Linked DNA regions of Homo sapiens: region 2 is linked to region 1. The links are contacts of gene promoters, found by promoter capture Hi-C in blood cells and fetal thymus (Javierre and others, 2016). All regions are on one chromosome and are shown on one strand. The core of a region is centred on a gene start or on the middle of the fragment in contact, and the rest is flanking DNA. Distances in the headings are between cores, read along the strand shown.

Evidence for each region. Contacts are between HindIII fragments. The CHiCAGO score rates a contact against its expected background, and 5 or more counts as called.
Region 2: a contact is called between a fragment that was not itself captured here and the fragment with the promoter of RAB40AL in region 1, in 1 of 17 cell types (total CD4 T cells). The highest score is 5.3, in total CD4 T cells.

Annotation. Positions count from the first base shown.
Region 1 is chrX:102,935,928-102,938,589 of GRCh38, reverse strand. RAB40AL (RAB40A like) reads right to left here and starts at 1,318. Exons shown (of 1, transcript NM_001031834.1): 1 at 290-1,318. The coding sequence starts at 1,271. The coding sequence ends at 435. All of the region lies in intron 10 of LINC00630 (long intergenic non-protein coding RNA 630), which reads right to left. The HindIII fragment of the contact is 15,007 bases long and covers 1-2,662 here.
Region 2 is chrX:103,478,563-103,481,224 of GRCh38, reverse strand. All of the region lies in intron 4 of LL0XNC01-250H12.3 (a long non-coding RNA gene), which reads right to left. Among named protein-coding and RNA genes, the nearest start is that of RAB40A, 40 kb to the left of the region's middle. The HindIII fragment of the contact is 607 bases long and covers 1,049-1,655 here.

The DNA.
Region 1 (2,662 bases), core at 69-2,568:
AGGAGGTTTACAAAAAGTCCCCTCTAGTAATATCAATGACTCGGAATGATCTCACTATCATTGCATCTCAAATTCCCTTGAATTTATACTCATCACTGTCATATCACCATTCTTACAAAAGCGGTTATTTTAAGGAAAAAGATGCAGTGTGATTATGATATAAGTAACATTCAAAATTTCATGTTATCAAGAGTTAAGCAGAGTACTAATTTCCCCTTTATAAACACATGCACATCCACGTAGAAATTCAAAGTCAAACTGCGTAAAGTGCTTTTATTGACAGAAGGCATCACACACATTCCCAAGCAGCATTGTTCCCATGAGAAACTGAAAACGTATTTCTTTGAATCTAGAATGCATCTTCCCTCTTCCAGGTGTAACCATTCAGAGTTTTTCCTGGAGCGATTCCAGCTTGTTTCCTTTTGGTGCCTTCCTTAAGAAATTTTGCAGCTGTTTCTGGTGCAGTTTTTGGGTGGGCTCTGGGGTGGGCAGACGATCTTCACTTTGCAGAGGCTGCTCCTTTTGTGAGTGGAGCTGGTGGTGAGGGAGTAGGAGAGGCCTCGCATCATCCTGGCATTCAGGCCCTTAGCCATGGAGAAGGACTTGAGGTGGCTTCTTAAGGCAATGGGGAGCGGGAGCTTGTCCACCAGATGCACAGGTGTGCAGGACACGATGGTGCGGCAGCAGAGGTCTTGCAAGCTCAGTACCTTGCTCGGCCTCCCGAGCCAGTTCAACCTGTGCCGCAGCAGCACTATCCTGGCCAGCTCCGTGAAAGACTCTATGATGTTGAAATTGCACAGAGGGCTGACCTCAAAGAAGGTCACGCCCAGGCGCTCGGCGTAGGCCTGGGCCTGCTCCCTGGGCACCTGCCTCTTGAATGCCAGATGTAGGCGATTCCCCACCAGGATTTTAGGGACACCAGGGGCATGTTCCTCAATCTTCTTAATCCATCGATCCATACCCTCGAAAGACCAGCGGTTTGCAATGTCGTAGACCAGGATCACTCCTTGTGCACCACGAGAGTAGGAGCGGAATATGGTACAAAATCTTCCCTGCCCCGACGTATCCCAGAGCTTCAGCTTCACCCGCTGGCCGTCCAGCAGGATGGTGGTCGTCTTGTAGTCGATTCCCCCCAGGTGACTGTACGGGGACTCGGCCGTGCCGTCCTGCAGGCTCTCCAGGATCTCACTCTTGCCTACGTCCCTGTCGCCCACCAGCAGGAACTTGAGCAGGAAGTCGTAGGCCTGGTCGGGGCTGCCCGGGGCGCTCATCGTGCTGGCCCCGCCCCCCGCCTGGGCCAGACCAGCAAGGTTGTGCGCAGAGGCGGTGCCGGGCCTATTTTTCTTGAGAAATTAGCATAGAACATAAAAAATGGGATGGGGAAGTCTACGAAATAAAGTGAAATGAGGTGGTGGCTTTGATGGTTTTCTTTTACAAACCCTGGGAAACCGGTTCAGCGATTGTTTTCCTTTTTCTTACCCAGCACAGAGTAGTGACACAGCAGTTAATTCATCATGGAAACCTATACATTTCCCTTAAAACTTTCATGTGATCGTTATGGAACCATGCCTTTTGGATTATGTCAAAGGAATCTCCTTTAAAGGAAGGACGGGTATGAGATAGGAAGCAGACTAAGATGTGTTGAGTACCGTATGTACCCTACGCTGTGTATGACGCTTAAAATAATTTGTTCTTTTACTTCTCAGAACAATTGTCTTTGGTAGCTATGATTGTTTTCATTTTACAAATGAGAAAAGGCAAACTCAGAAATGTTACGTAATTTTTAAAAATCTTGCCGTTAGTATAGAGATCACAGAAATCACAATCCTGAGCCAGTGCTCTCCTTATATAATGCCCCACACATCCTTTCTACTCTGTGGCCATGCCGGGTTTAGGAGTAAGTGTGAACTGTCTGTGCATGTGATCCTTGACAAGCCACGCATGTTTGCATGGGCACTAACACATTTTTTGCTGCAGGGGGACATCTCCCATAAATATAAGAGCCAAGATCTCAGAAGAAACATCTAGGATATGGATTTTTCTAGAGTGTCTCATAAATAATATTCAGCCAAGAAAGATGTGTTGAAATAACGCATGCATAGATCAATGAAGGGTTTTAGATTTAACACACGTACAGATCCTATAACAAAACAGCAAAACTGACAAAATATATAAATGGTTCATGGATGATGAAATGCAAATGGCCAATAATCATAAGAAAATGCATTCTAGCTCACTAATATATAAGGAATGCAAATGCAACTATCTAAATATACTTTTATCACCTATCGTTTGACAAAATTTCAATGTAGAAAAAACTGAATAAGAATTTTTTTTTAATTTGCAAAAGAAAAAGGTAAAAGTGGCTCTGTGTGTGTCTGTGTATGGGGGCAGGATGAGGGACCAAATACATCAAGGAAATGGAAACACACTTCTCAGTTATAAATGCATTTAAATATTGTAACTACAACAGGTATAAAGATGGTTAAAGGAATGAGAATGCTCAGACACATATAAGGGAGTTTAAATTATTGAAATCAAGCCCCAAGGGATAGATGTGTAAGCATGTAATGGATGAAACATTTTTCACATGTACAAAATAGCCAGGTAAGAGGTTATTTGCTACAGTATTGCTGAAATCTTTTTAAAAAGGAAAAAATGA
Region 2 (2,662 bases), core at 103-2,602, 540 kb before region 1:
AAGAAAGCCCCTTGAATGGAGAGTAGGCTCCTCTGTTTACCCACCTAGTTAGCCAAGCAGTGACTGCCACAGGGGTGGGAAAGAGGGAGGGACTGCATGAAACCACCCAGGGGTCAGCACCACAGCTTCCAGAGAGGAAGGATCCTAACACAGCTGGGTTTGGGGTAAAAGTTGAGTCACAGTCTCACTCAGCAAAGAACTGCAGGAACAATCAGCACATGTGAATTAAAACACTTGCGAAATACCTTCCCTGTGCAATTAAAAATATTAGAAGAAAAGGAAGGAAAATATACACAAACCCAACAATTCTAACACAAAATCAGATCAAGTTCTAAATAAGATTCACCCCTAAGCCAATAAGGGATTTGGGTGGTAGACTGGCATATCTTTTACCAGCATAGCCCAGATTAGGTTCTGGATTAGGCCTTGAAGGGTTACAGTGAGCATGAAAGACAGATAATTTGGCCCAGACAAATGGGAAGTTGTTTCATATCAGGAAACACTGAGACATTGTTTTAGGCCAGTTAGCTCCAGAGAAACTCTAAGACTTTGAACACGCTGGGAAAAAGCATTTGAAAACAGTATCTACAGGTTGTTTGTGCTCCCTATAGCGTATAAACTGAGAAAATGGATATGTCTGTTTTAGTAAGTCTGCAAGAGTACACATGACAAGGAGGCCATGCAGCTCCCACTGTTGAAATGTGATTGTGTGTTTGTTCTCCTCATGTTTCTTCATTTTTTTTCCTTTTTTTCCATGAGGTAGCCAGGCATCTATAGAAAAAACATGCTACAAAACAATACCATTCTCACTTACAGATATATGCATATGTAATAAAAGTATAGGGAAATGTCTTTAAAATCTAAAACCCGAATTCTGCATAGTGGTTACCTCTGAGAAAGAAGGAGGCTTGCAATCAGAGAAGTCTTCAAAGTGAGTTTCAACTGCATATATAATATTAGGTATGTCAACATGAGAACAGGGATGTCTCTTACATTCTATAATTTTTGTATTTCTGAAATATTTCATAACAACTGTTTCAATGAAGCTTACTTCTGACTTTTAAAAAGAACCATACTAATTTAGAAATTGTGGAAAACATAGTTAAGTCAAGAGATAAAGAATTAAGTACCGACCCACCGCTCATTAATTTTGAAGAATGTATCCTTTTTTGTGCAGTTCCTCCCGTTTTATTCTCTACGCAGTCATATTTAATGTATGAGTTTCATTTATCTGGAGACTCAACATTTCCTAAACATCATAAAACCAGTAATTAAATGTGCCCCAATTTTCTCCTCACTTTACTGATGCCAATGCCCACGTCCTTAACCATTAGGTATACAATCTTTTTCTGTGTAAGGACAGAGACCAACACAGGGGAAGTGACTCCCCATGGTCCTGTACACGAGGACAGATCTGGTATTGGGGGCCAAGGTCTCCTGATTTCAGTCCATTGCACAGCAGACCCATCTTCATGTTCTGTTATTCTGTGCTGTCTCCTTTCTGGCCCACAGTGGGAAGCTGCTATTTCAGCATCCAAATAGAAGTTTAAAAAGAAGAGAAGAACACAACAAATAAAAAGTAATGAGGCTATAATTTGCTTCCTTATTTCCACCATCCTCAGTATCTCATCTTAGAAAGAAATAGCACCAAAGCTTATACGTCATATAAATATGTATGCATTTCTTTTTCTGATGGTTCAAATCCATTGATCTCTTTGAGATGTTGATGTTTAAGTCATCTCTTGTGGGAGGGAGAACATAAGGGAGATTATACATATATTTGTTGAAGTATTAGGTACCATGTGCTTTATTTACGTTTGCTCATTCCTCCTCTTGGCTCTCTGAAGTAAATGTCATTATGCCCATTTTATAGGTTAGCAAGGTCAGGTTCAATAAGGGTAACTCACTGCTAGAGGGTCATATTCAGCTATCAAGAGGCAGGAATGGGGTATTACACAAAATACTCATTTATATATATTATTTCCCAAAGTTATCAGATTATATGTATGTTTCAGCAATTTTTCTTTCTCACTCAGCATGGTAGCCTAGGATATTAGTTTTCAGTCCTTTAGTTATTGTAATCTGGCATAGTTTTGAAAATTTAATGGGTATACAATTGTTTTTTAATGTGAATTATCTGTTAATATTATTTTCTCTATTCATTAGTAAGACTTCATTCCATATCAAGGATGTAGTGTTAAGGATTTAATATAAAAGTAACCACTGAAACAAAACAATAACCATGCTAACTACTAAATAAATAGGAAGAGGAAATCAAACACATGACCTAGTGAAAGGCTATATAATTTCCTTATATTTATAGACAATACTACAGAACTGAACTTAAATGACCAAAGACTTTGATCATATTGTGGCAAGTCAATTCTCCCTGACAATCACATAGGCAGGCCTGCATGACAGTCACACAGACAGGCCTGCATAGCACCCCAGTTACACAGACAAATTTCCACAGCGCTGCCTTAACATTGAGCAAATAGTTAAACCTAGGGAAATTGTTGCCCAGACATCAAAGCTAGAAATGACACATATGGTCAGTAGGAGCCTTGTGTGGGCTTCTCCCTTGCTGGAGCAAGCCAAAATAATAGACACAGTTTTACAATAGGACCCATCTCGGGTCGACAAAATCTGAGAGAAGTCAAGG